Regions from separate parts of the Homo sapiens genome. Here region 1 is linked to region 2. Evidence: promoter capture Hi-C in human tissues and cell types (Jung and others, 2019). All regions are on one chromosome and are shown on one strand. The core of a region is centred on a gene start or on the middle of the fragment in contact, and the rest is flanking DNA. Distances in the headings are between cores, read along the strand shown.

Region 1 (6,493 bases), core at 3,994-6,493, 960 kb before region 2:
AGGTGGAATTAAGAAATCTGGCAAAAAGTAAGCTGTTCCTTGTGCCTGAGGAGATGGTGACCCTTTATTTCATCTGTATTTAAACCTCTCTATTCCCTGCCATAACATCTTTTGCCACGTATAGCTGGAATTAAGTGTTGTCTTGGAGCTGTTGTACATTTAAGAATAAACTTTTGTAAAAAAAGAAAAATCTTACAGTGGCTCATCATCTCTTTAGTTGTTTTCACTAAGTCGTTCCTACCATAACTGTGAATTTAAAGTAAAACCAGCTCAGAATCTTGCCAGAGTCTGTTCTTTGGTCCTTGTTCTACCCTAAACTTTGTATCACCTGAAATTAAACCAACTCATTTGAAAGGATGGCGTTCTTGTGTGGTTGTATACCTGACAGAATACCTTACATGAGTTTAGTGGAAGAATTTGCACTTTTTTTTGGTGGGGGAGGGGGTGGAGTCTCACTCTCACCCAGGCTGGAGTGCAGTGGCATGATCTCTGCTCAATGCAACCTCCACCTCCCGGGTTCAAACTATTCTCCTGCTTTGGCCTCCCAAGTAGCTGTGGTTACAGGCACCCGCCACCATGCCTAGCTAATTTTTTGTATTTTTAGTAGAGAGGGGTTTCACCATGTTGGCCAGGCTGGTCTCAAACTCCTGACCTCAAGTGATCTGCCTGCTTCAGCCTCCCAAAGTGCTGGGATTACAGGCATGAGCCACTGTGCCTGACCAGAATTTGTGCTTTTAAAAGAAAACCCATCTTTATGTTGTCACATCCAAATTGCCGTATATTTTGATGAGACTTGTTCATCTGTTCATGTAAGGCGTCTGCTATATGCAGGCACTGGGGTATGTAACGGAACAGTTCCTGTTGTCAAGGAACTTCTCTACTGTGGAAGAGGCAGGGCAGGGCAAATTACATGATCCTTCAAGTTGCTAGCAGTGAAGTCCCCATGCGCACCAAACAGGTCCAGGGCAGCAGCTGCGGGAAGCCCCAGCCCACTTGCTGGTGGATGGAGGGGGTGCCAGTGCCAGGCAAGGGGTTGGGGGTGAGGCAAAATGGGGGCTCACTCTACCTCCTGCTGCCCAGGACTGGAGTCCCAGGCATACCTACCGCTTGCCCCTCAATAAATGCAAAGACAGAGACCATCCATAATGTGTGCTGAATATGTTTTAAAATGCTTAGCTGGGTGTGGTGGTGCACTTCTGTAGTCCCAGCCATTTGGGAGGCTGAGGTGGGAGGATCACTTGAGCCCAGGAGTTCGAGGCTGCAGTGAGCCAAGATCACACCACTGCACTCCAGCCTGGGAGACAGAACAAGACCCTGTATTTAAAAAAAAAAAATTAATTCAGAAGCACAAGTATTTGGATTTCCCTCCCAGGCCCTTAATACAATTATGTTAATAATGCTCAGCTTTCTCTGAGAATATTGTCGAAGAGCGCTCTGGAACCATTATGAGACTGCTAAATCAAAACTAGGTTTTAGAATATTGAAAACTTTCATGATTAATGTACTAGATATTAACGCGGGAGAGGGGGCAGGGGGAAGCCTGTGTTGGTCCTCTCCAGAAAGTTGCACAGCCAGTAGCACCCTTCAGTAGGCTTCAGGCATTCCCTGTGGGGCCTTGCTAGCTGGCACCCAGCCGTATGCTGCTAAAACAAACCTGAGCACCAGTGATTCACACTGTTCCTGAAAGCAAGTTACTTGGTGGAACCTATCCCTCTTTAACAAATGAACAGTCCTGTCTCTTTCCAGGACCAGAGTCCTGCAGCAATTAAGCATGCAACACTTGGGAAGCTATCTGACGGAGACTACCAGTTGCTCCAAAAAATTTTAAACTCCTTAGACATTATAGGCCCTGATAGCACTCTCTTTTTCATTTACTCTTTTCATTTAATGCTTTCACAAATATTCCTAGGACACTCACAGGTGAAGTTTGGCACTGAGCAGGTAAGGCTGAAAGAGTCTTGCTCCTGTTACTCTCCATTGCCAAATTCTCTATTGCGGCTAACTTCTGCACACCACAGCTGCCCAATAAAATCTGTCAGGCACGCAAGCCCACCTCAAATTGCTGCTCCTTTGTGAAGCTTTACCTCTGTTCGCCACCGGTAACTCTTACCTGGCCTTTGTGTGGCCTCCCTTTCAATGTAGAATTCTCGTGTTAGTCTTATGTGCCAGCCTCCTACCCCTCTATCCTGCTAACTTGACTCAACTTGTAGGACAGCGCAGGTGCCATTTACAGGGGGACTTCCTTGACCTCCTGAGCCCTATTCTATACAACCAGAGCTTAGGAAAAAAAAACAGTCCAGCACTCAGAGGAATGGATGTTAACAGCCTGAGCAGCTCCCACCCCCTCCCACACAAGAACAGCTCCAAACATCATTCCTCCTTGGACTTTCCTCCTCCCTGGGCCTACCTCAAATGTACACATGTGAAACATTCACTAAACCCGAAGATGTCTGCACACGACAGCTCTATTCATACTCCTCACCCAACAAATTCCACTCTCCTCAAGAAAGCCTAGGGGTTTGTGGGAGGTGGGTCTGGCGGCAGAAGGAAAGCGAGGTCACGGAGACCACATCCCTGAATGATGCCTGGCTCGACTCAAACGCAACACGCGTGAATGCTAGGGCAGGCTGCTCCTGCGCGGCCCTCCTCCACGGAATGCCAGGGAGGGAGCGCAAAGCCACCAGCGCGGCGGAGCTGGTGCGCCTCCGGCCCGCCTCTCCGGTAACGGGTCGCGCCGCACTGAGTCCTTGCAGCAAACCTGCCGAATCCCGCCCGTGGACCTCTAAACACCGGGCGGGGCCGGGTGTGGCGGCGCGCTCGGACGTTCGTCATTCCTCCGCGCCCTCCGCCTGCCAGCTGATTGGCCCCTGGGCCAGGGGCGGGGCACTCGCGGCGGAGGCAAGCGGCGGCGCGCGGACGGTTGGTCCAGTTCTCCGGCCTGGCGGCAGGCAAGTCTAGCTCGGCGCTGTCGGATACTTGGGGTGAGCGGAAAGCATGGCGGGGACCTCCGCGCCAGGCAGCAAGAGGCGGAGCGAGCCCCCGGCGCCTCGCCCCGGCCCGCCGCCGGGCACCGGGCACCCCCCGAGCAAGCGGGCCCGGGGCTTCTCCGCAGCCGCTGCCCCGGACCCTGACGACCCGTTCGGCGCGCATGGGGACTTCACTGCCGACGACCTGGAGGAGCTTGACACCCTCGCGTCACAGGCCCTGAGCCAATGTCCGGCCGCGGCTCGGGACGTGTCCAGTGAGTGCTCCTCGCGGCCTTTTGCTCGGAGGGAGTTGTCAACCGCGCCAGATCCCCTTGATGGCTGTGGCTTCGGAACCTCGCGGCCAGCACTGCCTTTTCGCCTTTTTAAAATATGGGAACACCCTGATTTAAGCAGCGGTTGTCTTCCAGAAGGTCCTTTGATTTTAGGGGGAAATGCATTAGCCAGGTCAAACAGCCGATTTGAAACACAGAAGGCTAAGTTGACATTTTACGTTATTTTCTAAAGTTTAGGCCACTTGGTTCTTGGTTCTAAGCAGAGATCCTTGGAACACACCTACCACCACCATCAGAACCATCACTACCCATGCATGGGGACCCATTCTTGTGACAAGTTTGAGCGGCTTTAGATCTTATGAAGCCCACTGTCTCCCTTGGGCAGTGTGAGCATGGGAGGAGCCAGACACAGGCAAGAGATGAAATAAATTTATTCTTTTATACAACCAGTAAACTGTGCTAGGTGCCCAAACGTGAGGAACTGCAGCTGACCTTACAATGAACAAAATACAAAAACTGTCCTTCATGGAGCTTACATTCTAGTTGAGGAGTGAGTGAAGTCTTGAGGACTCCCAGAAAGAGAAATGTTTTGAGTGCACCTTGCATCTGTACTTGGGTGTCTCAAGGCACCTTAAACTCAACACGATCATTTCCTGGAAACCCAGTCCTCCTCCAGCACTTCTAGCATGGTGCCGGCAAAGCAGACATTCAGAGAATGATGACCAGATGTTCCACAAGGAAGTAACTAGCACGACTCTCCATCCAGTGGCACAAAGCGACTCTTCCCCTTTCCTTGACTCTACATCTAATTTATTTGGAAAGCATGTCAAGCTTACCTTCTTAATCCTTCTCTGGAGTCTATCCTATTCACATTGCTTCTACCAGCTGCCTGATCTGTGTTACCATGAGTCCTCTCTTGAACAATGGTCTGCTAAATTGGTTTCCCATTTCCAGTCTTGACTCCCTACAAGTGAGGCTTCACATCACATTCTGAGTGATCTTTTCAAAACTCAAATCTGGCTGTGTCTTACACAGATATACGTGAACACCCTTTTTTTTTTTTTTTTTTTTGACGGAGTCTCACTCTGTCACCCAGGCTGAAGTGCAGTGATGCCATCTTGGCTCACCACAGCCTCTACCTCCCAGGTTCAAGAGATTCTCTTGCCTCAACCTCCCGAGTAGCCTCAGCCTCCCAAGTAGCTGGGATTACTTGTGCCCGCCACCATGCCTGGCTAATTTTTGTATTTTTAGTAGAGACGGGGTTTCGCCATGTTGGCCAGGCTGGTCTCAAACTGCTGACCTCAGGTGATCCACCCGCCTTGGTCTCCCAAAGTGCTGAGATTACAGGTATGAGCCATCCGCACCCAGCCATGAACACCCCTAATGAAAGCCCTTTAATAATTTCTTATTTCTTCTAGTGTGAAGACCAGAATCCTTAACATGGCCTGAAAGGCCCAGCCTGGTTTGGCCCTTTCTCACTCTCTGGGTCCTGGCTGCACTAACATTCTTTGAATTCTCTCTGCTTCTTTACAATACAGGAACTTTATACATTGTTCTTTCTTTGTACATTGAGTATACTTTTCATTCATTCATTTCCACTCATCTGGTTAATTCCTACTTGTCCTTCAGCTCTCAGCTCCTTCAAGTCTTCCCTAGGGAAATGTTCCAATCATCCCACTTAAGTCAGATTGCTGTCATATTATAGGCTTTCCTATATTTGTTCTCTTCTGCAGTTCTTAATCACAGTTGTAATTTTACATTTATCTGTGTGATTATTTGTTGAATGTCTTTTAAGCTCTGTGAGTGTAAGGAAGTATCAATTTTGCTCACTATTGTACCTGTAGAGCCTAACATGCCTGGCATATTGCATGTGGTCAGTAACTATTACTGAATAATAAGTAGATCATTGAGTTCTGGCCAATGAGATCTCCTCAGGCTTTAGATGAGACTCTTGGAATTGGATGAAGGATAGGGAAAGAATAATAGGATCTGTTGTTTTAGAAGGATCATTTATGAGTTTCAGCCGGGTGTGGTGGCTCACGCCTGTAATCCCAGCACTTTGGGAGGCCAAGGTGGGCTGATCACTTGAGGCGAGGAGTTTGAGACCAGGCTGGCCAATATGGTGAAACCCCGTCTCTACTAAAAATATAAAAATTAGCCGGGCGTGGTAGCACACGCCTGTAATTCCAGCTACCTAGGAGGGTGAGGCACAAGAATCGCTTGAACCTGGGAGGTGGAGGTTGCAGTGAGCCGAGATCACGCCACTGCTCTCCAGCCTGGGCAACAGAGCGAGACTCTGTCTCAAAAAAAAAAAAAAAAAAAAAGAAGGATCATTTATGAGTTTGAACCATGTTCTTAGGTTGAAAAACATCTATATTGCTTACTAGATCTTTCCCTGCTTTGCTCTCAAGAGTAATTCTTCCCAGCACTTTGGGAGGCAAAGGCAGGAGGATTGCTTAAGCCCAGGAGTTCAAGACCAACCTGGGCAACATAAGGAGACCCAATCTCTACAAAGAATTTTAAAATTAGCCAGGCATCCAGGCACAGTGGCTGACGCCTGTAATCCCAACACTTTGGGAGGCTGAGGCGGGTGGATCGCGAGGACAGGAAATCAAGACCAGCCTGGCTAACATGGTGAAACGCCATCTCTACTAAAATCCAAAAAAAAAAAAAAAAAAAAAGCCAGGCATGGTGGCACACACCTGTAGTCCCAGCTACACAGGAGGCTAAGGCAGGAGGATCACTTGAACCCAGGAGGTCAAGGTGGCAGTAAGCAGTGATCACACCACTGCACTCCAACCTGGGTAACAGAGCAAGACCCTATCTCAAAAAAGAAAAAAAAAAAAAAAGTGGGTATTTTCAGCATTTTCTGGCAAAAGTGGGAAAATATTGGGTCCTGAAATGTATATGGAACTATTTTTTACAGGTGATCATAAGGTCCACAGATTATTAGATGGCATGTCAAAAAATCCTTCAGGGAAAAACAGAGAAACTGTTCCAATTAAAGATAATTTCGAATTAGAGGTACTTCAGGCACAATACAAAGAACTTAAAGAAAAGGTAAGTGACTTAACTTGTGGTTTTTGTAGCTAATTCATTCACTTACGTGTTTAAAAGCATTGTACAGTAAAATATACAAAAGTTGTAAAACAAGTGTCTAGATTCATCCCTATGACATGGGAAAAGACTAGGGAAAGAAAACCAGAAAGTTTAGGCTGAAAGAAACTAAATTGT
Region 2 (6,181 bases), core at 1,882-4,381:
CACAGTGGCGCGATCTCAGCTCACGGCAAGCTCCGCCTCTCGGGTTCACGCCATTCCCCTGCCTCAGCCTCCAGAGCAGCTGGGACTACAGGCGCCCGCCACCACACCCAGCTAATTTTTTTTGTATTTTTAGTAGAGACGGGGTTTCACCGTGTTAGCCAGGATGGTCTCCAGACCTCGTGATCCGCCCGCCTCGGCCTCCCAAAGTGCTGGGATTACAGGCATGAACCACCGCGCCCTGCCAGGATCCTTTTAAAACTACAAATATGGGTGGGCGTGGTGGCTCACCCTTGTAATCCCAGCACTTTGGGAGGCCAAGGCAGGCGGATCACCTGAGGTCAGGAGTTCAAGACCAGCCTGGCCAACACGGTGAAACCCCATCTCTACTAAAAATACAAAAGTTAGCCAGGAATGGTGGTGGGTGCCTGTAGTCCCAGCTACTCCAGGGGCCGAGGCAGGAGAATCACTTGAACCCAGGAGGCAGACGGTGCAGTGAGCTGAGATCGCGCCACTGCACTCCAGCCTGGGCAACAGAGTGAGACTCCATTTCAAAAATAAAAATAAATATAAAACTACAACTATATGGCCAATTTTAAAATCCAGTGACTATGTACTATTTATCATAATCACTAGTAACCACAATGCAATTAAACCCAAGGTGCTGTCTACAGAAGGCCAGCAGCTTCAAATTAGCTCTCTTAGAAGCTGATCAGTCTTTCTTCTCAGAGTTAACATATATCTCTCAGCTCTCTAAGACAATTAAAAAGACGCAAACTAGCACCTTCTCCAGTCACTGCATGGACTCCACCCCATGGACAAGAAACACCTGAAGAGCTACCTGTTTTTACTCTCCTAATAACTTACACCCCCATATGACCAGAATAAACTTTTAAAAAGCAGTTAACTGACAAATGGAAAGAAATCAGGACTACGAAAATACTCCACCACCACCACATGCATGTGCACAGGGAATTGTTTACTTGATACACGCAGTACCCCAAATCAACAGTCAAAAGTGCCCACAGTTAACTAAAAATATCTTAGCCTGACCTAAATATCTTGGTTTTGAAGCAGTAAAGTGTAGGCCTTGCTCTAGAAGTTGGTCCCTTAAAAAAAAATCCAAACAAAGCCATGATTAGGCCAACCAGGGACCCTCGTACATTCATCTATCTCCCTCAATTGAAGGCAGGACCATCCAGTTAACAAGGGGAGAGTGCTGTGTAAGCTAATGAACCGAAATTTTTTGGCAAATGAACAGTTTCTCCCAAACTATTCACCATCAACAAGGTTTAAAAGAAGAAACAATGGAATAAGCTAGAAGTCCTGAATTTTAGCTGACTCTGGAGGCCAACTGCTTGGGAGTAAATGGAGAATACCTTAACAGAGCAGACAGTTCTGGTCTGCTCCTGACTAGATAGGTAACCTTGGGAAATTTACTTAAGTCTCTGGGACTCAGTTTGCTCATCTGCAAATGGGGTTGGACAACCAGTCCTGAAAGATTCCTCTTAGATCTAAAACTCAAGAACTACACAGTATTCCTACTCTCTTCTTCCCTCCAACACAGATTTTTATGAGAACAGAGAGGATAAATCTAGCACTAGACTTTAACTCAAACCAAGGTGCACCTTATATATTTAATGTCCCCAAGAGCCATCAGTGCTCCACAAAAGTAGATGGAACCAATTAAGACAAGTTATCCAGAGATCCTTCAATAAGTCATTCTTTACAATTAAAAACTAGTTTTTCAGTCCAATGTCACTTGTGCCAAATGCTCAAAACAGTATCTCCGCCAATCTAGCCACATCTAAGGTGACAATCATCCGCATGGTACACATTACACATCTGGGTGATACTAAGTGGTTGAAAAATTCTCTCCACATACAACATTTTAAATTATGGAAGTTTTTTGGTTTTTCAATTTTTCTCCTTCAGAAAGGCAGAGTGAAATATCTACTTACACACCTGCAAGAAACGTTTAAGACTTTCTTCAAGACAGAACCAAACAAGTCAACAACAGAGGTAAAAATTTAAAATCAGAACTATTAAAAAACACAAGTGGAACCAACTTTGAGGTAAAAAGGATTCCAATTTTCCACCGTAAACTACTAAACAAGGTTTGTGAACAAATCAACTTGGATGCGAATAGCGCTATTCAATGAAGACGACCCGTAACTGTAGATCCAATCAGTAACTAAGGTACAGATATTTAGATCATTCCTAATCAATACAGCGACTTCGACTAAGCAACATTGCATCTATTTTCATGCAACATCGCTTAAATCATTTACAGTTTTGTGTGTTGTTTTTTTTTTCCAAATGGAAAATACCCCTTTTCCACTCAAAACAGACCCCAAAGCTTTCAGACGAGTTCGGGCGCGTTCCAGGTGGTATGGCCGTAGATCATACCCCTAAGCGTTCAATACAATCTTTTACTTACTTACACAGTCTCCAACAAGTCTGCATTAAAAGAAAACCTACCCAAAGTGTAACTGGACTTTAATCAATATGAAACAGTGATTGTCGTTTCTCGTTAAACGTAAAAAGCAAAATGGAGTTGTAAAGAGTTTCTTTCCCATTTCAACTCCGACAGCCACGCGCGCTTTCAGCGGCCGGCTACACTGCGCGGTCGCGGGGCCCGGCCCAAAGCCCCCGCCCTGCCCGGCGCCGCTGGGAGAGGAAGCTCCGGGGACCGAGGGCGGGCAGGCGGGCAGCCTGGGCTCCACCAGGCCCGGCCGGGCGGGGGAAGGGGCACAGGAGACTACCGGGCGCGCTTCCGGGGACTGCGCGGGCGGGGTCGCCGCTTGGGGCGCGGGGCCCGGGCTGGGAGTCAGGTCAAGGGTCAGGGGCCAGGGGCGGCTCGGCCACGAGCAGCCGGTGGGGCGCGGCCGCGGCGGTGCGGCGGCCTGCCGGCCGGAAGAGTACCGGGCTGGCGGGCCTGGGGCCCCGCGGCGCCTGGAGGGAACCCTTCCGCTCACCTCAGGCAACGAATCCGAGTCCAGCCTCTTCGCGCCGGGGACGCCGGTCCGCGAGTCGCAAACTCGGAGACGAAGGCGGGTAGCTGAAGACCAGACCGTGGACTAACGAGAGAACCGACGGAGGACCGCGGGCGGCGGGAGGGTAGCGCGAGAGAGCGAGGGCGGGCGGCGGCGGGAGGGCGGGGAACGACGTGCGCGCCTCCGAGTGCCCAGCGGGCTCGAGCCGGCACAGGTCGCGGCCCCGCGCACGCGCGCGCACTCACAGCTCATCCACTATTGCTCAGGAGCCCGTCCACGCCCTAAAAGCAAAACCCTTAACCAATCATTGCAGCCGCGTGGGGCATCACGGGAACTCCGGGGCTATAAAAGACCTGGTTGCTATTTTGTACTCCCGGAGTCACTCATCCCTTAAGCAAGCAGGGTGGGGTTAGGTGCGCGTGCGCGGTTTTAATACTCCTCCCCGAACTGCCAACTCTTCACGCACGCGAAGTAGGCCCCACCCTGGCTGGGTTTACGCGTGCGCACTAACGGGCCTGGTCCCGGAAGACCACACGCGTGCGTGGTGGGGACTACGGTGACAGTACCCCGGGTGGGGCGAGGGCCAGTCATGGCGGAGTCCTGGTCTGGGCAGGCCTTGCAGGCTCTGCCGGCCACGGTGCTGGGCGCGCTGGGCAGCGAGTTCTTGCGGGAGTGGGAGGCGCAGGACATGCGCGTGACCCTCTTCAAGCTGCTGCTGCTGTGGTTGGTGTTAAGTCTCCTGGGCATCCAGCTGGCGTGGGGGTTCTACGGGAATACAGTGACCGGGTTGTATCACCGTCCAGGTGAGGCTTCCTACGAACCTCCGTGGGCTGGCCGCCCCCGCCCCCACCCTCTCCCGACTGTACCATTGGGTTCCCCACTATCCTGCAAGAGGCTCATCAGAACTTAACATTGGTTCACGGCCTTACTACCCTGAACGCATCTGACCTCGGAAGCTAAGCCAGGTACTTGGATGGGAGAACTTAACGTTGTGCCCTGACTCATGCCACCATACCATTTTACGCCAGAATCCCCACCAGTCCACCCATCACATTGTATCTGTTCCTCAGAACTCTCACCTGGCAATACCATTAGTCCCTTAGGACCCTCACCAGACTTCACCAAACAATACCAGTGGTCTCTAACCTGACCTGGGCTGATGCCTGCTCAGATTCCCACCCCAGCCTTCTGCAGCTCTGGATGTGTTTCTGCCTCCAGGTCTGGGTGGTCAGAATGGATCCACGCCTGATGGCTCCACGCATTTCCCTTCGTGGTGAGTAAATCTGTCCATACCGCAACCCCATGCTTGGCATTCCAAGGACACTCCTGTGCTGGTGACAGAGAGGGGAGTTCTCAGGCTTTAAGCCCACCAGCTTAATGGCCTTTGCAGCAAGCTTCAAGTCTGCACGTAGAGCTCAGGCTTCAAGTTAGGGTGACACCAAGGTCTGGACAGTCCATCATCATGCTGTTCAGCAGCCTGTAGGATAGGTGGTGGTATTGTCATAATTTCAGAGAGATGAAATGACAGGTTTGTTGGATTCCACTCTGCACAATCCCCTCAGTTGGGAAGGCAGTAATCTCTGTCCTGAGCACATTGACCTCATCAGGGTCAGCCTCCTCTTCTGCAAAACATGCGCTCACTAATCAGGGCATTCATTCAGATAATCTCTGGGCCCCTATCACGTGATAGGGGCCACACGAGGCCCAGAGAACAAAGACAACCCGGGCCCTGCTCATGGGGAGCCAGGGATTTATTAGGGGAGGGCGGCAGTGCATGGGGCAAGGGTGGTCAGGGAAGGCTTCTCCCAAGAAAGACACCTAAGCCGAGATCAAATGCCACAGGGTGACAAAGTGTACCAAGCAAAGGGAATGGATTGAGCAAGGCTAAGAGGGAAGAATACGGGTGACATATTAGAATAGGTAAGACTGTGATGCTGGAGCTTGAACGTGAGAGCTTGTTGGACCCTGGGAGCCATTGAAAGACTAACTCAGCAAGGCTGTGGTCTGATCTAATTTGCCTTTATAAATGCCTACTTCATGGCAAGTAGATAAAGGGGTCCAAGAGTTAGGGCTAGAGGTTAGAAAGGCTGCCACTGCCCAGGTTTCTGTCTTAGAGAAGAGGCCAGGCCCCATGGCTCATGCCTGTAATCCCAGCACTTTGGGAGGCTGAGATGGGCGGATCACTTGAGGTCAGGAGTTTGAGACTAGCCTGGCCAACATAGGGAAACCCCGTCTTTACTAAAAATAGAAAAAATTAGCTGGGCATGGTGGCATACGCCTGTAATCCCAGCTACTCGGGAGGCTGAGGCATGAGAATCACTTGAACCCAGGAGGCAGAGGTTGCAGTGAGCCCAGATCACGCCACTGCACTCCAGACTGGGCATCAGAGTGAGACTCTGTCTCAAAAAAAATAACAGGCCGGGCATGGTGGCTCACGCCTGTTCCTAGCACTTTGGGAGACTGAGGAGGGTAGATCACCTGAGGCCAGGAGTTTGAGACCAGCCTGGCCAACATGGCGAAACCCCGTCTTCACTAAAAATACAAAAACTAGCTGGGTGTGGTGGCGGGCGCCTGTAATCCCAGCTACTTGGGAGGCTGAGGCAGGAAAATTGCTTGAACCCGGGAGGTGGAGGCTGCAGTGAGCTGAGATCTTGCCATTGCACCCCAACCTGGGCAACAAGAGTGAAACTCCGTCTCAAAAAAAGAAAAGTAATAACAATAGTAATAAATAAAAAGAATAAAAAAACTAGAGAAGGATGGCAATGCCGTACTAACATGGAGAACCAGGAAGAAGAATGAGTCTGCAGGGAGAAGGTGCTGGGCCCAGGGTGGGCTGTGGGAGACCAGCAGAGAGGTCTAGATTGTTATGTGACCTTACTGAGCCTAGCTCAGCCCCCAAGAAGGAGCTTGGGAGAGCCAATTTCAGCAACTGTTCTGCCCATGGAATAACCACTCTCTCTTCTCTCTCTCCATCACTTTCAGGGAAATGGCAGCAAACGAACCTCTCAAAACCCACAGAGAATAAGGGAAGGCAGCAGAGGGTCTCCAAGGGCATCACTGGGTCTGCTGGCTTCTACACTGGGTTCTGCTACTCCCCAGACCTCAGGGACAACTGCCGGGGGTTCAGGGTTGGTAGCAGGGAGTACCCAGTGCCTACAGGGCTGGGCCTCTTCTGCCTCTTAAGCCTG

Evidence for each region. Contacts are between HindIII fragments. The study calls those that stand out against the background at their distance.
Region 1: a contact is called between a fragment that was not itself captured here and the fragment with the promoter of RHOA in region 2, in 1 of the 25 tissues and cell types used here (pancreas).

The regions. Positions count from the first base shown.
Region 1 is chr3:48,443,852-48,450,344 of GRCh38, forward strand. ATRIP (ATR interacting protein) reads left to right here and starts at 2,886. Exons shown (of 13, transcript NM_130384.3): 1 at 2,886-3,241; 2 at 6,186-6,319. The coding sequence starts at 2,995. It overlaps ATRIP-TREX1 (ATRIP-TREX1 readthrough), which reads left to right and starts at 2,928. Exons shown (of 15, transcript NR_153405.1): 1 at 2,928-3,241; 2 at 6,186-6,319. It overlaps TMA7 (translation machinery associated 7 homolog), which reads left to right. Exons shown (of 4, transcript NM_015933.6): 4 at 1-357. The coding sequence ends at 31. It also overlaps a transcript of CCDC51 not described here. RefSeq lists a silencer at 2,831-3,190. The HindIII fragment of the contact is 4,318 bases long and covers 3,085-6,493 here.
Region 2 is chr3:49,408,845-49,415,025 of GRCh38, forward strand. RHOA (ras homolog family member A) reads right to left here and starts at 3,132. Exons shown (of 5, transcript NM_001664.4): 1 at 2,976-3,132. TCTA (T cell leukemia translocation altered) reads left to right here and starts at 3,579. Exons shown (of 3, transcript NM_022171.3): 1 at 3,579-3,796; 2 at 4,212-4,266; 3 at 5,976-6,181. The coding sequence starts at 3,583. The coding sequence ends at 6,018. RefSeq lists enhancers at 2,279-3,253, 3,152-3,446, 3,382-3,791 and silencers at 2,572-2,661, 2,672-2,951, 3,012-3,311. The HindIII fragment of the contact is 6,127 bases long and covers 1-6,120 here.